Linked DNA regions of Homo sapiens: all the other regions are linked to region 7. The links are contacts of gene promoters, found by promoter capture Hi-C in blood cells and fetal thymus (Javierre and others, 2016). All regions are on one chromosome and are shown on one strand. Each heading gives the region's core, a stretch centred on a gene start or on the middle of the fragment in contact. The rest is flanking DNA. Distances are from core to core; before and after follow the strand shown. Region 1 has its middle 45 kb from the start of USP51. Region 2 holds the start of MAGEH1 (MAGE family member H1). Region 3 has its middle 36 kb from the start of MIR4536-2. Region 4 has its middle 34 kb from the start of FOXR2. Region 5 overlaps SPIN3 (spindlin family member 3). Region 6 holds the start of SPIN2B (spindlin family member 2B). Region 7 holds the start of KLF8 (KLF transcription factor 8).

Region 1 (3,057 bases), core at 69-2,568, 700 kb before region 7:
ACCTGCCACCGCGCCTGGCTAATTTTTGTACTTTTAGTAGAGATGGAGTTTTGCCATGTTAGCCAGGCTGGTCTTGAACTCCTGACCTCAGGGAATCCTCCTGCCTCGGCCTCCCAAAGTGCTGGGATTACTGGCGTATGTGCCCGGCCAGCCCACTTTTTTAATAGAATTATTATTTATTTATTTATTTATTTTTAGTTATTGTAGTTCCTTGTAAATTCTGAATATTAGACTCCTGTCAGATGCATAGTTTGCTAATATTTTCTCTCATTCTACAGGTTGTCTCTGTTCACCCTGTTGATTACTTCTTTTACTGTGCAGAAGCTTTTCAGTGTAACTAAATCCCATTTGTCTGTTTTTGGTTTTGTTGCCTATGCTTTTGAGATATTAGGCATAAATTCTTTGCCTATATCAAAGTCCAGGAGAGTTTTCCCTAGGCCTTCTTCTAGTATTTTTATAGTTTTGGGTTTTACATTTAAGTCTTTAATCATTATTGAGTTGATTTTTTTTAATATGGTGACAGATAGGGGTCCAGTTTCATTCTTCTGCATATGGCAATCCAGTTATCCCGGCACCATTTATTGAACCCAGTGTGCTTTCTCCAGTATATGTTCTTGTGGCTTTGTAAAAAATCTGTTAGCTTTAAATATGTGCCTTTATTTCTGGGTTCTTTATTCTGTTCCATTGATTTACATGTTTATTTTTATACCACTATCATGCTTTTTCATTTACTGTAGCCTTGTAGTATAATTTGGAGTCAGGTAATGTGATGCCTCCAGCTTTGTTCTTTTTTCTTAAGCTCACTCTGGCTATTGGGGCTCTTTTTTGGTTCCGTGCAAATTTTAGGATTTTTTTTTAGTTCTACGAAAAATGACATTGATATTTTGAAAGGGATTGCATTTAATCTGTAGCAATCTAAAGCAATTGCTTGAGGCAGTTTTGCCATTTTAATGATATTAATTCTTCAGATTCATGAGGATAGGATGTTTTGCCTTTTGTTTGTGTCATCTACAATTTCTTTCATTAGTGTTTTGTAGTTTTCCTTGTAGAGATCTTTCATCTCCATGGTTAAATATATCACTAGGTATTTTTTTGTGGCTATTGTAAATGGAATTGTCTTCTTGATTTGGTTCTTGGCTTGACTGTTATTTGTGTATAGAAATGCTACTGATTTTTGTATGTGGATTTTATATCCTGAAGCTTTACTGAATTCATTTATCAAGTCTAAGAGTGTTTTGGTGGAGACTTTAGGGTTTTCTAGATATAATCAGCAAACAGGGATAACTGGCTTTTTCTTTTTCAATTTGGTTGCCCTTTTTTTCTCTCTCTTGCCTGATTGCTATTGAATAAGAGTGGTGAAAGTGGGCATCCTCGTCCTGTTCTAGAATATTTTTGAACCTAGGATTAGCATGAGTTGGGAAGCAGTTATTTTCCTTCAAGCTTTTGGGAGAATTTTTAGGAATGACATTATTTCTTGCTTAAATATTTGGTAGAATTCAACAGTGAAGCCATCTGGGCCTGTAGTTTCCTTTGTGAGACAGTTTTAAACTATAAATTTAATTTCTTCATTAGATGTGGAATTATTTAAGCTATCTATTTCATCTTGAGTTAGCTTTGTTAGTTTGTACCTATCAAGGATTTTTTCCATTTAATGTAAGTTGTGTAATTTATTGGCATGAAGGTCTTCATAACATTCCCTTCTCTTATTAAAATCTCTAGAGTCTATAATAATGCCATCTCTCTCTTTCTTAACATTGATAATTTGTCTTCTGTCTTACTTTCCTGATCACCTGCGTAGAGATTCATCAATTTTGTTGACTTCTCAAAGAAACCAACTTTTCGATTCATTGATTTTTCTCTATTTTCTGCTTTCTATTTCACTGATTTTTGTTGTGATTTTTTTTTCTACCTACTTTAGGTTTAATTTGCTCTTCTTTTTCCATTTTCTTAAGGTGGATGCTGAAATCATAATGTTGAGACCACTCTTTACTTCTGATATTGATGTATATGTAATGCTATAAAATTTCCCCTAAGTATTGTTTTAGTGGCATTGCACAGACTTTTTCCTTTTTAAATTTTCATAGAGTAAAACTGATTTATTTTACAGTAAAATTCTATAAATTTTAATGCGTATATAGATTTATGTTACTACTACCACAATTAGAGTATGGGACAGATGTATCACTACCAAATATTTTCTTATGCTATCATTGCATGGTCATACCACCTCCCCACCATTTATCTTCCAGGGTTTTATAGTTTTAGGTTTTACATTTAAGTGTTTAATCCATCTTGAGTTGGTTTTTTTTTTCTTTCTTAATCTGGCTGTGTTGTCTTTCAACTCTTGGACCATTTTCTTGTGTTTCTTGGATTGTATTTCAACCTTCTCCTTTATCTCAATGAGCTTCCTTGCCATCCAGATTCTTAATTTTATGTCTGTCATTTCAGCCATTTCAGTCAAGTTAAGAACAAGTACTGTGGAACTCATGCAGTCATTTGGAAGTAAGCATCTGCTGGACTGAAGGAGCCAAGATGTTCCCAGTCTACTAGCAATAACACTCCAATGGAGGCCTCTGGCAAAAGCGCTCCAGCAAGGTAACGGCAGGTCTGTGCCCACACATGCACTGGTGAGTCTGTAGGGGTCTCCATGCTCTTGCGTGCTGGTGGTGGGTGGTGGCAGTGGGTCCCTGCATGTGTGTGTGCTGGGAAGGCAGCGGAGGGAGGCTATGGGCAAGTGTGCACTGGTGGGTAAATGCTGAGGGTGGGTGGGTTCATGCTACTGGGGGAAGGCTGTGGGCAGGTGTGCATCAGTGAGGGAATGCTGCTGACAGGTGTGCACTGGTGGCAGTCTGTCTGCAAAAGTACTCCAATGGTTAGGTGGGTTCTGCAGGTGAAACAGCTATTGCAATGTATGCTGGCAAGCTGAGGCTGTGCTGCAAGCAGGTGCCATCAGGTAAGGTCCCTGGGAGAGGCCAACAGATTGGGGGGGCACTCACATCACACTGGTCTTGTCCCATGGGCAAGGCAGCCCTGCTCTCTTTAGATCTGGCAGCCAAG
Region 2 (3,075 bases), core at 230-2,729, 780 kb before region 7:
AGTATTCATTTGTTTCTTAAGAGTTCAGTTAAGAACACCTATAAAATCTTTTCCATCATGAATTCCTTCAGCACGCATTTATTAAATGCCACACTCACACACCGCTTGGAAAACCTTGAGAGGCAAAATCTGTGCTTACCATGTAATAAATGCTTTTCATTTTTTATCTCATTTAATTCTCACAACCCTATGAGGGCTGTACTTTAGCCCCACTTTATAGATGGGAAAACAGGCTTAGAGAGAAGTGACTTGCTTAAACTAATACCTTGAATGACATAAGAAAGATATAGAGTGCTAGTTATAGGGCTTTCCTCAATGGAGTAAAAATGGACTCATTACCCTTTTGGGCAGATCAAGACAAGCTTCAGGGAGAAACAGGTCTGTGAGCAGTCAAATGGAATTTAGATAGTTGGAGAAGGCTGAGAAGACAGGTCAGGCAGAGCAAACAGTGAGCAAAAGCAAGCAGTGGATAAAGTTCAGAGTATGCTCTGAAAGAAGCAAAATAAATCAGGAGTCCAGGAAGACTGGAGCCTAGAAACCTTGGAGCCAATCTGAACTCCATCATCCCCTCCACATTCCCCACTTCATCCATTCTGTCTGCAAAGCCCTTCAACGGTCACCTTTAAAATGTCTTTCTGCCTCTCCATCCCCATGGCAACAGCCTTAAGGCATACTTTAGTTCCCAGTGCTTCTTATTCCAATTGCTTCCTATGTGGTCTGCCAGGAAACAGTTTGCTTTTCTGAGAGGCTGCACAAATGCAATTCCTCTGATCCTGTCACTGCCCTGCTTTCATACATACATACATACATATATGTGTGGTAGATATATGCACTGTATATAAACATAATGTGGTAGATATATGCACGATATAGGTATGTATGTATGTATGTATAAAAGCAGGGCAGTATATATATCGTGCATATATCTACCACATTTTAAAGGCTCTGCACCTCTTTCACCCTGCTTGTTTCTGCAGTCCCATCTCCTCACATCATCCAGCACATCTGCCATAACAATATTATCCGGGTCCTACATGGGACCACAAATTGATTAGTATACACACAAATGCCTTCTGAAAACAGGGCGAGTGAATGAACGCGCTGTGTAAGCCAAGACAGGAAAGGAAGGCTGGAGACAGCTGACTCCTTCCAAGAATACACCCTCCCGCCACCCCTGGCCTCCCAACCCCCAACACACACACAGCCCGTCGTCAGTGGGAATGGAGCCGACGCACTCCTTCCCTAGACCGTCGAGCCAATCTTGGAATGTTTGTAGTAGGCTGAAAATACAGAAACTTTAAGCTATTTTTTTCTCTTCTGCAAACTCCAGGCCCCTCCAATCTCTAGCTGTCATTTCTGCCCTTGTCCCACCCCTGTCGCTGCCTGCCCCTTTTCCTATCTGCTAGCGGAAGTCCCTGTGGAGGACCAGCCTACTTCCTCTTTGGTGCTAGGAGTGTGCGTGGCAGGAGAGGCGGGGCCAATTTTGCTGAGCTTTCTCGCGGGCTTGCAGCTGCGGCAAGTGCTGGCGGCGGCTGCTCGCGCAAGTCAGCTGGCGTGGGAACTACCCTTTGTAGCTGAGAACGGCTTGTTTATTGCTACAAAGACTCTATTGACATTGGTAGCTTCAGCGGCAGCAGCTTCTTACGGTATAAAGCTGTTGCTTCCTGAAGAGGCTACAAGCATCCTTCCCTAGGACTGCTGTAAGCTTTGAGCCTCTAGCAGGAGACATGCCTCGGGGACGAAAGAGTCGGCGCCGCCGTAATGCGAGAGCCGCAGAAGAGAACCGCAACAATCGCAAAATCCAGGCCTCAGAGGCCTCCGAGACCCCTATGGCCGCCTCTGTGGTAGCGAGCACCCCCGAAGACGACCTGAGCGGCCCCGAGGAAGACCCGAGCACTCCAGAGGAGGCCTCTACCACCCCTGAAGAAGCCTCGAGCACTGCCCAAGCACAAAAGCCTTCAGTGCCCCGGAGCAATTTTCAGGGCACCAAGAAAAGTCTCCTGATGTCTATATTAGCGCTCATCTTCATCATGGGCAACAGCGCCAAGGAAGCTCTGGTCTGGAAAGTGCTGGGGAAGTTAGGAATGCAGCCTGGACGTCAGCACAGCATCTTTGGAGATCCGAAGAAGATCGTCACAGAAGAGTTTGTGCGCAGAGGGTACCTGATTTATAAACCGGTGCCCCGTAGCAGTCCGGTGGAGTATGAGTTCTTCTGGGGGCCCCGAGCACACGTGGAATCGAGCAAACTGAAAGTCATGCATTTTGTGGCAAGGGTTCGTAACCGATGCTCTAAAGACTGGCCTTGTAATTATGACTGGGATTCGGACGATGATGCAGAGGTTGAGGCTATCCTCAATTCAGGTGCTAGGGGTTATTCCGCCCCTTAAGTAGATCTGAGGCAGACCCTTGGGGGTGTAAAAGAGAGTCACAGGTACCCCAAGGAGTAGATGCCAGGGTCCTAAGTTGAAAATGATGTCGATTGGGGGCGGGGGACACTGTATTTGATATTTGTGATCAGTGATCATTGTTCAACTGCGAAATAGAGTGTTTGCTTTTGATAATGGAAAATTGTATTCGTTTTAAAATTCCGTTTGTTGAGAATAACAATATGTTTAAAAATATAATTGAACAAATTTTTTTCTTTGTTTCCTGTCATTGACATTTAGTATAACAGTTTTGCTAACGTTCTAAAATGAAGTCGTTCCATCATAATCTATGATCTTGTACAGCACTTATAGAAATAAGCTGTTCTTTTGAAGTTGAAATACCCAGTAAAATGTTGAAGAAGGATGGAGGATTTCTTCATATCTGACGTTTCTGAAACCCTTTGTGTCTGCTGTTGTGTGAAGATTGACATTTACCATGATTTTCCTTAGTTACTGCAGAACATAGAGAAAAATAAAAGCCTAACGAATAGTACATCTTGCGCATTTTCTGACCACCTGTTATGTGAGGCACCAGTCTAGATTCTAGGGATACTCCCTAGTACACATCCTCCAGGTCCAAAGAATGTTCTAGATTATGTGGGAAAGAAAAATAGGTAAACTGGCAGTGCAGTAAATGCTGGGATAGAGA
Region 3 (3,193 bases), core at 116-2,615, 820 kb before region 7:
CTTGCTAGGAAGCTTTTTTTGTAGCTATTGACAAGATGATTCTAAATTTTATGCACAGAAATTATAAAACATTAGTGAGATATATAAAAGAAAAACTAAGTAGGTAGAGAAATATACTACATTCACTGGAAGGCTCAATGTTGTTAAGATCATTTATTCCCAAATTTATCTACACTGTCAACACAACCCAGGTGAAAATATTAGCAGGTTATTTTGTTGAAGTTTACAAGACTGCTAAAATTTGTTTGTAAATTATATGGATCTCTAACTGACAAAATAATTTTGAAAAAAAGAACAAACTTGAAAGCCTTAAACTACCAGATTTCAAGACTTATTATAAAGCTACAATCAAGACAGTGTGATACTGATATAAAGAAAGACATATAGAACAGTGGAACAGAAAAGAAAGTTGAGAACTAGATCTAGAAATAGTAAGATCAGATCAAATTATCAACCATGCAAATAAAAGAATTACTTGGGGCAGGGAGTTAGAGTCAGTGCTATAAAAGCACAGTCAAGTTGTACATTCCCAAAGTACTTTGGTATGTTTATTTTGCACATAAAATTGACAAATAAATTTAATCTACTTGTTTCTATGCAATATGTAGTCCTAATTTGCAACATGTGTTTTTAAAGAATCTTCAATTATGGCTTTAGTAGATATCCAGCCTAAGACAGTGAAGAGTGATACAAACTAATTCAAATTAATGATTTAAATCAATTCAAAGTATTGGCAATAATATTAAAATAAGCTTAGTTACAGAAGTATCTGACAACTGTTATATCTCAAAATTTTGCTGAGATTTAGCATTTTCTCAAGAGATTAATTGCCTAAATGGTAATATTTACATCAAGTTAAAGATGTCAGTTTAGGCTTCCCCAATGAGAGTTAAACGCCAACTGAATAATTTTGAATCCTCTCTGTCTGGAATTGTGCTTAGCTAGTCAAACCAAAAAAGATTATGTTTCACTTTACATATAATTCAAATTGATTATGACTCTGGCTGATGAGCACCATTTCAATACCATCTCACTTGTATATATGATAATTTCAGATAAGAAATTATAATTTCTAAACACTATTCTAACTTTCTGAGATTAAGACTAATGAATGTGAACAGCATTTTTATTTTCCACTAACTGTAATTTGGGGTCTCCATTGGGTCACTTGGGTTATAATAATTGCATCTGATTTGCCACAATTGTGTAATCTTAAAACATCTAAAATTTAAAAAATAGACAACAGAGTGAGTATCCTTAAAATGGGGAGTTGCTGTCCACCAGTTATATAGTATCAGTTACGCAAGATGAATACATTCTTAACATCTGCTGTACGACATTGTGCCTATAGTTAACAATACTCTATTGTGCACTTAAAATGTGTCAAGGGGATAATCTCATGTTTAGTGTTCTTAACACACACACAGACACACAGGCACACACACGGACACACACACACACACACACACACACACACACACACACACACGAGAGGGGGGAAAAAGCATCTGTAACACCAAGAATGAGTCTCCAAAAGAGAATCATCCTTTGTTTAGAGAGAAAAATGCTTTATGTAACTTCTTACTAACTGGAATTGTCCTATACCCAGTGATATATAAATTATGACCTGAATATTTAGAAAAATTCTGATATCCAATATTCTTCCTCCTGTCCATACACAAGGTAGAAAATTACCTGGAAATTTTATTAGTATGTCTCTCACATTCAGAGATAGCATAAAAATCTTTGGCAGTTCATATGTCCTAACTTTAGATTTACATTATATGTTTACTAGAGTTAGCACTGAAGAACAAGTTAATTTACATCATCACAAAGATATCTTTGATATCTGTCTCAGCTTCTTTGGTAGAAATTGACTTCTCATTAAACTTGCCTGATAAAATACAGGATACCTTGTTAAATTGAATTTTAGCTATATGGTGAATATTTTAGCATAATTATATCCTGATTATCACAAGAAGCTTATTTATACTATAAAATAGTTGTTTATCTCTGTCAATTTGGGTTGATGACTTGTGAAGGATTAAGATGATGAATATAATGATTGAGTGGGTTCTACTTACCACTCTCTACTACCTAACACATTTAGCCTGTGATATAATTGTGATCATGTCTACAATGAGATGAAGTAAACAGGAATATGTGTTTGAATAAGTTAACAAGAATGAAATTCAGAGAAATAAAGAAATTAAAAATATGAAAGAGAAATTAAAGGATATGGAGAATATGGTATGCAGGTTGTACACTCATCAAATTGTAATGTCAGAAATAGATAACAGAAAGAATAAGAAATAGGTGATATTAAAAATATAAAGGCTGAGAATATTTCAGAAATTATGAAAGAAATAAATCCTCAGATTCAGGAAGTCTAGTAAACCCCACATAGAATATATAAAACTAAATTCACACCTAGACTTATTATAATAAAACTACAGAAACCCAAAAACAAAGATATGTTCTAAGCAGCAAAGAATATGTAATTATCTACAAAAGAATTACATTTAACCTCTTAGATGACATCTCAATAGGAAGAGTAAAATCTAGAAGACACTATAACATCTACAAAGTGATTTAAAAAAATAAGGATTTGGGACAAGATGGCTGACTAGAAGCAGCTAAGGTGCATGCCTCTCACGGAGAGAAACAAAAGGGGCAAGTAAATATAGCACCTTCAACTGAAAAAACCAGGTACTCACATTGGGACTAATCAAGGAAACAACTCGACCCACAGAGAAAGGAGAAGAGCAAGACAGGACAAGAGCCCACCTGGGAGTGACACAGAGCCAGGAGAACCTCCCCAACCCAGGGAAGCAGTGAGTGAATGATTGACCCCAGGAAACCATGCTTCTGCCACTGATCTTTACAACCCTTTGGTTGGGAGACCCTCTTATGAAGACAACCCACCAGGGCCTTCAGGCTGACACGCAGTGTGAAATCTCGGCAGAGTAGCCACTCAGGCTTGCATGGAGGCCCAGGAGCTTTACATACTCCAGCTCCGGGCTTCCTGGCAAAAGTGACTGCAACTCAGGCAAGGCAGGGGGTTGAACCTCCGCACATATCTCTAGGAAGGGGGCTGAGTAGCAATGGTCTGTGGGCCCCACTTCCACTAAGCCTCCCAGGATAAGACCCACTGGCTTGGAATTCCAGCCAGTGTCACCCATACCTGGGACAG
Region 4 (2,998 bases), core at 313-2,812, 570 kb before region 7:
CAGGATGTTATAAGGTAGGGTGACTTGGCTTTCTACATGCTATTAAAGGGTGCATACAATACTGTGGACACCACAGCTGAGAAGATCAGACAACATTCTAAGAAGATAAAACTAGTGAAATTTTGTACACCACATTAAAGAGTTTCATCTGATTTAGCAAGGACTGTATTTTCAAGCATGCAAAATAAACGTCGAAGAAAAAGAGAAGATTCATCGTATCCAGGGACGGCATGAAGCTGCAAACTATACTCTTCACTTTTCCAGCCAACTTTGAGCAAGTGTTTGAGATCCTTTCCTAATGTTTTCTTTCCTCCTGTTACTGTTTATGGCATAATGCATGATGCACATATAGGCCTCTCCTGCCCACCCCCCAACCATAGATATTCTTTCTTTCTCTTCCCAGCACCTTGAATCTCAGCTGCACCCCTGATCTTCTCTCTCCTCACCAGGTGTAGGATCCCGACTTTCAGTTGGTGGTTCCTCTTGCTGAGGTTCCTCATCACTGGGCTCCTGGAACCAGGGGTGTGTGTGTGCAGATAATTTGTTATCAATACATTTCAATAATATAAATATACAGAATACATAGATATTTCTGATCATAAGTCTAAAGACATTTCTCCAGCACTCTTCCACATACTTATACTTCATAAAGTTACTCTTCCCACAGAGAGGTTACTCTAAGACAGTTGCCCTCAAGGGCTCTGGAAGCTGTTTTAATCTATGTTGGGATGAATGTGTGTAATCTTTTGCAAATAAGCATGAGAAGGAAATCGTGGGCAAAATCTGGGGAACACAAGATCATCCATCCAGACAACAGAAGAACTTAATCCTCTTGGATTAGTCTTTCCTTCATGAGATGCCATGATCATTTTTATCAGCATGGAAGACCTTTATTGGTGAATCCATACTGGTTCAACAACAATTACAAAACATAGTTTTGTAACAACAAGTTACAAAAATAACTTTCTGCTAATAGAAAACATCAAAGGTTAAGACACTCACCAGCATAGGCCCAATCAGCTCAGGAGGTGGTACGCTTCTCCTTGGTCTAGGCCTATATGTTGATCTTACTCTCCAAATCATATTTCACACTGCAAACAGAATACTGTGAATTGGTAAATGCACTTGAAAGGACAGCTGTATTTGACCACTTCCATGACCAAATGTTAACTTGTCATTTTTTAAAAGTTTGTAAATACTTTCGAACTAAGTCTCAGGGTAAGTGTAAGTATGTGTGCCTTCCAAATGCTCGCAAAGTCACTTAAGTTGGTCAAGCTAGCTGAGCAATGTCTCATAGCTCCTGGCAAAAGACATAGGATATTTCCGATGAGGTTTGGTTTCACAACTGAACTCTCCTCCGTGGAGGCATTTAGGAAAATACAGCCAGAGAATTAAAACTGCAGTGACCACGACTTTTGTCACCCACCCATTTGCTAGGCCCGTTTCCCCCCTAAAATCAAGTTTTGTTGGAACGCAGAGCCCCACCCATTCAAATCTCCACAGTGGAGTTGAGAAGTTGCCACACAGCACTGGGCCCTCCTCACTGTACACCTCTGCCAGGCGTTCTACAGACCTCAGGGCCATGGTCACCAACCCGCAGTGTTCCCAGTTCCCTTCCTTAATGCCCACCCCGCTCCTTCCTGGGTCGCCACGGAGGAGTCTGGAATCTGTCCTCTGTCGAGGGTTTCAGGGACTCAGATACCTGCCCCAGCACCCCCAGCACTCACCCCATCTTCATCTGACCCCTCTCAACTACTCGGTCCACCTTCTTCCCTCGTTCTGACCCTACCACAACAAGGCCCACAGCGGTGCCACCTCACGAGAAGAAGGACGAGCACTTTGAGACCCTTCGGCCTCTGAGGCCACGTACCACCCTGCCCCACACTCAGGACGGCCGCTGGCTCCTCCTCACACTCACTCACACTTCAAGCCCTGGGAGGACTGGCCTGTGGACCTACCGGCTGCGTCTCAGCAGGACAGAAAAAGTCCCGACAGCAGGAACGCGATCCTCAAGCCTTCACAGCTCCCTGGCGTTCACCACATGGGCAAAGGGGCCGAGGGGAAGACGCCCAGTGGACATGCGCAGTGAGGTCGGTGCCTGCCTGGTGGGCTGTGGCACCCCTCCTCGCCCCACCCCATCCCGCACCGCGCAGTCCTCTGCCTTCTCCCAGGTTTCCGCTGAAGAGTATGGAATGTGTCTTCTGTGGGCGGTTTCATATGCCTCCGGGACTCAAATACCACAAATAGTTTCCCCCTTCAAAACTCACTCCATGTTCACTAGGTCCTCCTCCCCTCTATGGCCCTCCTTCCTCCCCTGTCTGGGACCCCCACGACAGCAAGGCCAAGGCTGTGTCACCACCTGTTAGGAGAAGGACAGGAACCTCAAGGACCTCCCCGTCGGAGGCCATAGACCGCGCCGCGGGCTCCTCCTCACAGTCTCTCCCACTTCAACTCTGGGAAGACTGATCTTCGGACTTACTGGCTGACTCCTAGTCAGCAGCACAGAAGGAAGTCATGATGTCTCCTTGCACAGCTCTGCAGGGACAGAAGGCAGACAGCAAGGCACATGGACAAGGGACTTGGGCAGCAAGGGATGTGCACACTGAGTCAGGCACATGCAAGGCCACCCGGGGTTTTCCCTCTCTCCCCAGGCTCGCATCCCTAAGGTGTTTGTAGTAGAAGGAAAGGGACTAAGAGGCTTTGTTCTCTCTCTTGCCCTACCATTCTCATGCATCCAGAAACACTGGGAACAGACAGTCCCATGTCACCATTAGTGGAGGATGTGGCTCAGAAAGACCTTTTGTGACAGAAATAAATTACTTTAATATCTCTATTTATACATTCTTTTTTCTCATTTATATATGCATGGGTGCCTGCCATGTTGCAGGAAATATCTGGGATGCTGGAAATGTGAAGACCAAGGAACCACACGTGGTATGTTCCATGGAGGCTACCACACTGTGGTGGGGAAGACAGACAGTTAAACTGAAGAGCAGTT
Region 5 (3,361 bases), core at 208-2,707, 760 kb after region 7:
ACACCCTAGACTGAAAATTTGATCACAATTGCAGCCCTAATTTACAATTATGTCCAGCCATATTTCCTGACATAGCTGACAACAATTATACAATGACTCCCAAAGATAGCATTAAAATACTCCAAATAATACAATATCAACAACATAATAAAAATGCCTTAGTTTGAACTATATGACCTCACCCCCACCCCATCAACTATTAAACTCCAAGGGAAAAAGGACTGCCCAAAATTAAATTTCTAATTCAAAGTCCAAAATAATTAAAGTCCAAAATTCTGCCTTTCCCAATTTCTCGTTTTTCTCATTTCAGCCATATAGATCTCACAAAGATGTCTGCCCAGATATGGGGTTCCTTCAGCAGCTGCAGCCTTGGCTGTCTTCCTCTTGACTGGGTGAAGTTCCTTCAGGACCTCAGGAGTTGAATTAATCTAACCCCACAATTGCATGTCATACATATTAAAGAGTCCAAAGGGTCAAGAAGACATAAGATTATCACAATATCAACCTCACATCAAAAAAATTAGAAAGCACACTAGTCCCCAGCCACTAGAACAGTTTTTTTAAGCAAATATATGACCCCAGGACTTAGAACATAGGGCAATACAGACCCACATTGCTGTTGTCAGTCAAACATCATAGTAGAGACTTAGTGGCATCAAAAAGCAAAAGTAGACAGATAAAACATAGGAGAAAAGAGAACATCTTCTTTGTTTCATCCTCAGCAGGATGCCAATCTGTGCCGGTAGTCTGGACTCCATGACCTGTGAACTTAAACTAATTTGGAAGATATCTTGCAGTACAGTCCCAATATGATTGTACTGCCTTGAGTCCCAGCCCCAAATGTGCAGAACTCCATGGCCTTATTAGGCTGTTACTGCTAATGGAGCTTCTGTGAGAACCTCAATGAGAAAGCTTTGGTTTTGGCCAGGTGCTTCTCTCAAAAACCATGCTTGTACTTCAACTTTTCTTTCCTAGGCTTTGGTTAACCTCCGCCAATGGCTCTTTAATAATGGAAAGCTCAAAGGCCCTTCCATTGTTTACTTTTCTGCCACAGTAGAACTCACCCTTATCTGCATATAAGTTTCTTAGGGCCAGCCAAGAAACAGGATAGTTAAAAATCCAAACACTAACAAAAATCTATTAGATTTCTATCTACCAATGCCAGCACTTAAAACATCATTAAGCCTACAGATTACCTACCACTGACTGTGTTCCAAGTCCTGCTGGGATACCATAATAGATGAGCCCACCAGTCCCTGCAAGGAAGTATAGCCTGCTTTCAGCCATTCTTGGTTCTCACAAGTGCCTTGCCCACCTCACATGCTGGGACTCTGAATTCAGTCTCCTAAGAATCAAATCTAAAACTTGAGTCTCTCTTAGCACAGCAAAGAAATCTGTATCTCAGTTTGATTCTAGGTTTCTCCTCTTTCATTTTGAGGTTCTGGACAGATCTGTCCAAACCCAGCCAAACCCAGCCTTTGCCTGTGACTGAGGGCTCTAGCTAGAGCCTGGCTTAATGCTCCTCTGGGCTGGCAAAGACCATTTGTGCTAAAGTCTGCCTGCACAGCTTCTATCAGTTAAAACCTACTCCATGTCTGCAGATACCAGCCAGAGCTATTGGAGACAAGAGAGACCCTAATGCCACTGATGACTAAAACCTTTCACTTAAGCTCCACCAGAAATCTTGATCTCTCCACTTGGAGTTTGGTCCCCAAATGCTTGTCTTCTTATCAGTTTTGCAAGGTTTCTCAGCCTATGGTTAGGTACTAAAATGCAAAGTAATTACCTTCTTAATTCTAAAACAGTTGAGCAATAGGTGAAAGAACCGGAAAGAGAGCAAAATTATTAGCCTTACTTTTAGTACAGTTAGAACTGAGAATGCAACTTGAACAAGAGACCAAAATGGGCTTCCCACTCTTTCCCAAGTTAGATTTTTGAAGCCACTTGGGGGAGATTTGAGATTGCAAAGACACTTACCCAGCCAGTCACATGGGATATCTCAGCAAGCTTCACACCTCAATGAGTGTAGAGTCCAAGTGCCAAAAAGAGTGAGGTGAGAGGTGTTCAGCTACCTTTAATCTATTAACACCACCCAAGATAAAAAAAAGTATGAGCCAATGGATGTCAGACTTTACCCTTCTCACTAATCAGTTAAATTGCGGAGAGGAACCAGTGAAAAGGTTGGACAGATGGGCAAAAGGTTTCTTCCAAAAACGTATGAGAGGGCAGAAGTTCCAATTTTTTTGCCAAGCAAAACGTGCAAAAAGGGAGAAGATGGTTCTTACAAACTGGAAAGCAATCAAGACTTTCTGTGTCTACAGATTTAGAGTCTCATATATTTGGCAAATTTCAAGATGACCTCTAAGATGTTTTTACCAAATCGTAGACATAGATATGGAAATCATCATCAAATTTGATGAAGTACACAGAGGGTTTTGCTTCTACCTGATGAATGACCATGCCAGTTCTCTTGGAGCCATCGTCTTTGGCGTATTCCACCTGTTTGCCTACCAGGCTGTCTATGACTTCTCCTGGCTCCCTCTCTGCCAGAGGAGAATCATTGGAATCTTGAAGGATGCGGAGGTCACCATCTTTATAATCATCTAAGAGCTGGTACATATATAATACAGGATCTTTCTCATAGGTAATGTAAAACCATGTGTTCATGACAGGTGCCTGAGCTAAGACCATCCCCCTCCATTCATTTTTGGAACCTTCCTCTGTCTCAAAAATATGTTCCACTGCTTTGCCAACCATTATTTCTGCCAAGTGTGTATCACTGATTCTAGATGATGCAACTCTATTAGGAAGGACTTCAAGTGATGACACTCTTTCATCTCTGTGAAGTTCCAATCCATAAACACAGTCAAATCCATCATATTTGATAAGATACAGAGAGGGATTTACAGGTACCTGATCCAGAACGGTTCCTTTCCACTGTGTTAGAGGTTCATCTCCATCTTTCCATCCGTGCTGAATTCTGCAGCCCACGATGTTCCCCCGAGGCTGGGAGGTGGGTCGGCTCCTATGCTTCTTGTGTGCAGCCTTCCTCTTTATCATGGTAACAGACACACTGCCGTGGCCAGCGCCCGTCCTGGACCGCTGCCCTGCAGCTGCCTTTCCAAACGGGGTCTTCATGCCTGCGAAGAGGAGCACAGTTGCCAGGTGGACCGAGAAAGGAAATTAACAAAATCAATGCATAACACGGAGAGCTTTTTCTCCTAATCAGCGCACCCAGTAAACCCACACCTGTTTTTCCCGAAAGCTAGATAGCAAAGCTGGAAATCAAGGCACCCTGGCTGAGTGCCTGCAGTAACCTTCCTCCCCAGCTCAGTCTGGCTAAGATCTGCGGTTCGGTGAA
Region 6 (3,015 bases), core at 1-2,500, 890 kb after region 7:
AGGCAGCGGCGTCCCCACCGCTTGGCTCGCTAGCCCTCCGCCTCCCTGCTGGCGGTGGCGGCCCCTCAGCCACATCGGGATTCCACCAGTCCCTGCTGTCGCCGCGGCAGTCTCCTCCCTCTTTCCGTAGCGCAGCTTCCTGCCCAGAGAGAGGCCTCCTCTTCCTGTCAAACACCCGGCTCTCCTCTCCACCAGGCTCCCACGCCCACCACACAGCCTGTAGCCCCGGCGGAGCTATGGGCTCTGACTCCGCCTCTTTCCAAATCCGGAGTAGTTCGTGCCACAGTCGTCCTCGGAACCCTGTGGCCCCTTCCTCACCCGTTTCAGGGCCACTTGGTTCCCACCTCCACCTTCTTAGTCTGCCTGCCCTGCTTTCCATCTTCTTGGAATTCGCCTTGCTGCCGCCCCGCGCCCACCCCCGCGCCCACCCCTGCCCCTGCACCGTCCCATGCCCTTATGGATTTATTCTTTACACGTAAATATGTCTTTCCTCTTTTTGAAAGGATTTGGAGTTGGAACAGAGAAATTCACTATGGTAAGTCTGCCATTTTGACCCAGTCTCTACCTAATTTTTGCTGACTGATATTTCCTGGCATTTTTGTTTTTGTTTTCGAGGGATTTTTTTTTCCTTTTCTTTATTGCAAGATAATTGCATGTACAACGTGAACACTATCTACATTTTAGGAAATTAATATTAAGAGGAAAATCATCAACTGCAGTCCCATCTCCCATTTTTGAGGGCCTCACAGCAAAATATTAATGCTCATAGTTTTTTTTCCTTTTTCCTAAACTTTTGCAAAACTGGGATTTGTTTTTTATCTGCAATTCATGTCTATTAATTTTTCCAGGAAATTAGATGTTTTCTAATCGATTTTTTCATTCAACAAATATTTATTGAGCACCTGTTACATATCTTGCACTTGGTCCGTAAAACTCAATTTTAAAGTGATTTATAATTTGGCTTTTCTCCCAGTACTGGGCATTTGACATAATATTTCCACAATAACCAGTAATCAGATCTATGTATCGGAATAGAAAGCTTTGCAAAAAAATAACTTTATAAGAAATAATTAAAGTTATAGTTTTATAAATCAGTGGAGAAACGTTGGGTATTCTTTAAGGAATGTTGAAATAATTATTTAAATATTTTGAGAAAGGTTGTATACTAATGTTGTACCAGTATCAATATTTGATTTATTAAAAGGTAAAAAGCAGCAAAATAAAATTGAACAGAAAGCAAATGAACCAACCAAAAACTCTGTAAACAAAACAATGCTTAATGGTATCTTTCTTATTCAGATACTTATGGTATTTGAATGAGGGGATGAGTCGGATGTTAACAGAACAACTACACTTAATAAAATAACATCTACAAGGAAAAATAGAAGTAATAATAATCTCGATTCAACAGTCAAAGTATGAAAGAACATTAAAATATTACTTAATGTCATTGATCATGAAAAAGCTTCATATCTAGTGCTGATGCAAGTGAAAGTTTATACAATTTTTATGGAAAGCAATTTGCAGATATGTCATAGTTTCAGTGAGGGCTTTTTATTTTATTTTCATTTTTATTTTTTTAAATTATATTTTAAGTTCTAGGGTACATGTGCACAATGTGCAGGTTAGTTACATGTGTATACGTGTGCCATGTTGGTGTGCTGCACCCATTAACTCCTCATTTACATTAGGTATATCTCCTAATGCTATCCCTCTCCCCTACCCCCACCTCACAAGAGGCCCCATTGTGTGATGTTCCCCTTCCTGTGTCCATGTGTTCTCATTGTTCAATTCCCACCTATGAGTGAGAACATGCGGTGTTTGGTTTTTTGTCCTTGCGATAGTTTGCTGAGAATGATGGTTTCCAGCTTCATCCATGTCCCTACAAAGGACACGGACTCATCATTTTTTATGGCTGCATAGTATTCCATGGTGTATATGTGCCACATTTTCTTAATCCAGTCTATCATTGTTGGACATTTGGGTTGGTTCCAAGTCTTTGCTATTTTGAATAGTGCCGCAATAAACGTATGTGTGCATGTGTCTTTATAGCAGCATGACTTATAATCCTTTGGGTATATACCCAGTAATGGGATGGCTCGGTCAAATGGTATTTCTAATTCTAGAACCCTGAGGAATCGCCACGCTGACTTCCACAATGGTTCAACTAGTTTACAGTCCCACCAACAGTGTAAAAGTGTTCCTATTTCTCTACATCCTCTCCAGCACCTGTTGTTTCCTTACTTTTTAATGATCGCCATTCTAACAGGTGTGAGATGGTATCTCATTGTGGTTTTGATTTGCATTTCTCTGATGGCCAGTGATGAAGAGCATTTATTCATGTGTCTGTTGGCTGCATAAATGTCTTCTTTTGAGAAGTGTCTGTTCATATCCTTTGCCCACTTTTTGATGGGGTTGTTTGTTTTTTTCTTGTAAATTTGTTTGAGTTCATTGTAGATTCTGGATATTAGCCCTTTGTCAGGTGAGTAGATTGCAAAAACTTTCTCCCATTCTGTAGGTTGCCTGTTCACTCTGATGGTAGTTTCTTTTGCTGTGCAGAAGCTCTTTAGTTTAATTAGATCCCATTTGTCAATTTTGGCTTTTGTTGCCATTGCTTTTGGTGTTTTAGACATGAAGTCCTTTCCCATGCCTATGTCCTGAATGATATTGCCTAGGTTTTCTTCTAGGGTTTTTATGGTTTTAGGTCTAACGTTTAAGTCTTTAATCCATCTTGAATTAATTTTTGTATAAGGTGTAAGGAAGGGATCCAGTTTCAGCTTTCTACATATGGCTAGCCAGTTTTCCCAGCACCGTTTATTAAATAGGGAATCCTTTCCCCATTTCTTGTTTTTGTCAGGTTTGTCAAAGATCAGATAGTTGTAGATGTGTGGTGTTATTTCTGAGGGCTCTGTTCTGTTCCATTGGTCTATATCTCTGTTTTGGTACCAGTACCATGCTGTTTTGGTTAGTGTAGCCTTGTAGTATAGTTTGAAGTCAGGTAGCGTGATGCCTCCA
Region 7 (3,282 bases), core at 780-3,279:
GTGCTGTAGTGGTAAGAATCCTATATTGGATAATACTCCCCAAATTTTATACATTGAGAAACAAAGCCTCCAAGGAATAAAGTAAATTTTTTAAATGAAGGCATAGAGAGTTGTACACTTCTCTGTATGATTCCATCTCAATATATCTTACCTTGTAAGCTTGGCAGGGGTGCAGGTCGTGGTGAAGAGATATAGTGAGATAGAGAGTTATTTATGAAACCCCTACTACAGGGACATTCTTTTATGAAACAAATACATATGCATGTGTATTTATTTAACCTGTCACTAAGTTTCCACATCTGTAAAATGGGGATAGCAATGTCTACCCATAGGATTGTCAGAAGGATTCAATGAGTTAATATACATAAGAGGCTTACAACAGAGTTTAGTACATAGTTAATGCTCAATAACTATTATTATTGTTAATAATAATATAACTTGGCATCCAAGTTACAGAAATGAGATCGCCTGGTGCTTCAGCTCAAGGACTTTATAGTTTAGTAGGGGGAGGCAATTATACCAACAAATATGTGCCCCGAGGTAGAGAAGGGCACAGAGGAAGCAATGGTCAGTTTTGCCTGAAGAAATTAAGTAAGGAGGGGAGATGACCTTGAGTTAGTCCTTTCAAGAAAGTGGACAGATTCATTGGAAGGACATGCAAGAAAAAAAAAGGTGGACAGAGAGCTTAGTCTATTTCAGTCAGAGAAAGTAAAGCAACCCAAGGCATAGAGATTGGAAACAGCTTGGAATTCCCAGGGATTTGTAATCCAGGTAAAGCCCAGGAGAACAGCAAAATCTCTGCTGCTTGAGAGGCAGACAAAGGCCAGATCACAGCAGGTTAAAGGATGAGTTCCAGGGTGCTGCCTTGGATGTATGGTGGTGCCATTCAGGTAGTTGGTGAACTACAGGAGGAAGAACAGAGTGTTTTGGGGAAAGGAAGGTAGATGAGATGCACAGAAGACATTCAGGCAGAAATATCAACTAAGTAAGTAGACCTATGTGTTCGAAAGTACTGGGCTGAGGCCTTCCGTTTCCTTATTTTTTTAAATAAAGGGCACAGAGAATATAACAGTACCTAGTTCCCAGGGTTGTTATTGGGACTAAATGGGGAAATGTTGAATGTAAAAGCACCTGGCTCAGGGACTTGCCCATATTAGGTGCTGAATACATGGCAGATATTATTATTTCTCCTGTCTCTTTGCTCTTCCTCCCTCTGCTTTGTTTCTTGTCTCTCTTCTTTTTCCTCCTCTTTAAAAGAATTGTGGTAGGGAAGAGGCACTGAAAATGGGCTGTGGTTGCTTGTGACTTCCTGGCCTCCCATTAAAATGAGCTAGAGAGAGACTTTCAGGCAAGCGTAAAGAAATCCTGGAAACATGGCTCCTATCCTGTGGATTCAGCTTTACGGGGATCTTCGCCAATGCCTGGCTGAGAGGCGGTCTCAGGGGGTTGAGAACTCTATTCTTAGAGGTCTGGTATCTGGGAGACTGAGAAAGCCTTTCTTAAGTCTCCCTGCTGGGCCACGCTGTATTCACAGATCATCTTCAACTCCTTCTTCTTCCCCACCTACTCCTTCGCCCTCACCTCCTTGGCTTATCTCTTGCTAGAAAATGCACCAAGCTCCAATCTCCGTTCCTTTTAGCTTCCTCCCTGAGAAGACACTGTGACCTCGCTGTCCTTGTTCGTGTTACCATGGAGAGGTAGGAGGATAAATATCGCTTCCAGTTGTCAGCTTTTTTGTTTTCTCCTTTCCCTCTTAGACAGCCCCCAGCCCCAATCCCAGTACCCGTTTCACCACCCTCCCCTGGAGAATTAGCATAACCGGAGTAAATAGGTAATCAAGCAGTGTGCTTGCAAGCCTTAATTTTGGGACAGATAAGGAAGTGAAATTGATTGGAATTATACCTGCCGCTGCTGGAGGCTGAGGGAGGCGGCCGCCGGAGGCGAGGCCAGCTCTGTCGGCCCAGGGCCCCGCCCCACCCCCTCCTTCCTCCCTCCTCCTTCTCAGCCCCACCCTTCTCCACCTCCTCCCACTTTGCACTCTCCTCTAGCGGCCGCCTGTCCTTTTTAAGGAACTCCACCCTAGGTGGAGTCCTCACGATAGTCACACCTCTCCTTTGGGCCTAGCAGGGCCAGAGAAAGACGGAATCACTCTACCCACTCAGGTTGCCCAGAGAGCACTTTAGGTTCTGACTCGCGTGGGGCGCGAGGTACCCCGTGGGGCAGCTAGGTGCCTCCAAGAAACCCCGCCCCAGAGGACCCGCACGAGTTGCTGCCATTTTTCGCTGAAGCCCCTGCCCTGGGGCTGGTGTTCTTCTCTATGATTCTACCAATCGTCGGCATTTTTTTCCTCCCTTCTTTCTTTTTAGGAAGGCGCTGGGGTGTGCGGCGGCAACGGCGGCGGTGAAGGGATCCTCTTGTGGTATCTCCTCGTGGGTTCCTGTCTTGAAGGATTTCTTCTCCGCCTCAACTTTATGTTCAAGTAGCGCTTTGGGGGTTGGGTTGGTTTTCATAGCCCCCACCCCCGGCCCTCTCCTTTTAAAGGGTGTGTGGAGTTCAGAGGATGGGTGGAGAGCGGGCTTGGCCGGAACTGAATTGGTAGAGGTAAAAGGGGAACGGAGGACCTTAAGCTCTGGCCACTTCGGCCCAGCGAACCCACTTTATTTTTGTCCAAGGAAAAGCTGCAGGGGGGAGGATTCTTTTTAGGAAGTCTACTCTGCCGGCCCCTGATTTTTGGGTTGGATGCTTGAGAGCTTTGTTTCCCTTGTTCCGAGAGTGGCCCAGCTGGGTCTGAATCGACTCCCTCCCCTTTCGACCCCCTCCTCATTTTCCAGCCCGGAGAAATAGGGGAGTGGGGGCCCAAGAACGAGAAGACGAGAACGCGTCGCCCTGCGCTATGTCAGAATGGGGCGGGTGTGAGGGGAACAGCTCTCTTGCGATCAGCTCAGGAGTATGAGCCTCCCGGAGGACGGCATGAGTTCTGGACACTTCAGGAGTCCTCAGCTAGTGACATGGTCGGTAAGTGACTCTGGGACTAATACCCACCCACTCCCACCTCTTTCGTCTAGATTCTATCCCCCTCCCAGTCCCCCTGCTCCCCCCACACACCCCACTTGGGGTTTCAGCAGTGGGGGCGGGAGCGGAAGGTTAAGAACACTATGTGGAATCAAATGAAACTCAAGGGAAAATGACTTTGCTAAAGGGCTGGGCAAAGAAAGGCCAAGAAGGAGAGGAGAGAGCTTGGTGGAAGAAGTGAAAGGGGGCAAGAATGGATGGATTTGTCTA

Evidence for each region. The method cuts DNA at HindIII sites, captures the fragments that hold promoters and counts their contacts. A CHiCAGO score of 5 or more calls a contact.
Region 1: a contact is called between a fragment that was not itself captured here and the fragment with the promoter of KLF8 in region 7, in 1 of 17 cell types (erythroblasts). The highest score is 5.7, in erythroblasts.
Region 2: the fragment with the promoter of MAGEH1 here is called in contact with the fragment with the promoter of KLF8 in region 7 in 15 of 17 cell types (total B cells, M0 macrophages, megakaryocytes and 12 more); the score reaches 22.5 in total B cells.
Region 3: a contact is called between a fragment that was not itself captured here and the fragment with the promoter of KLF8 in region 7, in 5 of 17 cell types (erythroblasts, total CD4 T cells, endothelial precursors and 2 more). The highest score is 7.7, in erythroblasts.
Region 4: a fragment that was not itself captured here is called in contact with the fragment with the promoter of KLF8 in region 7 in 1 of 17 cell types (erythroblasts); the score reaches 5.2 in erythroblasts.
Region 5: a contact is called between a fragment that was not itself captured here and the fragment with the promoter of KLF8 in region 7, in 2 of 17 cell types (M1 macrophages and M2 macrophages). The highest score is 6.6, in M1 macrophages.
Region 6: a fragment that was not itself captured here is called in contact with the fragment with the promoter of KLF8 in region 7 in 2 of 17 cell types (M1 macrophages and M0 macrophages); the score reaches 5.2 in M1 macrophages.

What each region holds. Positions count from the first base shown.
Region 1 is chrX:55,533,188-55,536,244 of GRCh38, forward strand. No RefSeq gene overlaps it. Among named protein-coding and RNA genes, the nearest start is that of USP51, 45 kb to the left of the region's middle. The HindIII fragment of the contact is 240 bases long and covers 1,199-1,438 here.
Region 2 is chrX:55,450,648-55,453,722 of GRCh38, forward strand. It overlaps MAGEH1 (MAGE family member H1), which reads left to right and starts at 1,480. Exons shown (of 1, transcript NM_014061.5): 1 at 1,480-2,919. The coding sequence starts at 1,728. The coding sequence ends at 2,387. MIR4536-2 (microRNA 4536-2) reads left to right here and starts at 848; the gene lies at 848-935. It overlaps MIR4536-1 (microRNA 4536-1), which reads right to left and starts at 935; the gene lies at 848-935. RefSeq lists enhancers at 1,693-1,742, 1,893-1,942. The HindIII fragment of the contact is 1,343 bases long and covers 361-1,703 here.
Region 3 is chrX:55,413,507-55,416,699 of GRCh38, forward strand. No RefSeq gene overlaps it. Among named protein-coding and RNA genes, the nearest start is that of MIR4536-2, 36 kb to the right of the region's middle. The HindIII fragment of the contact is 1,230 bases long and covers 751-1,980 here.
Region 4 is chrX:55,655,932-55,658,929 of GRCh38, forward strand. It overlaps the pseudogene XAGE-4. Among named protein-coding and RNA genes, the nearest start is that of FOXR2, 34 kb to the left of the region's middle. The HindIII fragment of the contact is 7,881 bases long and covers 1-2,998 here.
Region 5 is chrX:56,991,810-56,995,170 of GRCh38, forward strand. SPIN3 (spindlin family member 3) reads right to left here. Exons shown (of 2, transcript NM_001010862.3): 2 at 1-3,140. The coding sequence starts at 3,138. The coding sequence ends at 2,362. Among named protein-coding and RNA genes, the nearest start is that of SPIN3, 2.1 kb to the right of the region's middle. The HindIII fragment of the contact is 1,095 bases long and covers 911-2,005 here.
Region 6 is chrX:57,121,433-57,124,447 of GRCh38, forward strand. It overlaps SPIN2B (spindlin family member 2B), which reads right to left and starts at 116. Exons shown (of 2, transcript NM_001006681.2): 1 at 1-116. It also overlaps a transcript of FAAH2 not described here. RefSeq lists a silencer at 284-403. The HindIII fragment of the contact is 426 bases long and covers 1,038-1,463 here.
Region 7 is chrX:56,230,327-56,233,608 of GRCh38, forward strand. KLF8 (KLF transcription factor 8) reads left to right here and starts at 2,030. Exons shown (of 6, transcript NM_007250.5): 1 at 2,030-3,015. The coding sequence starts at 3,009. The HindIII fragment of the contact is 3,283 bases long and covers 158-3,282 here.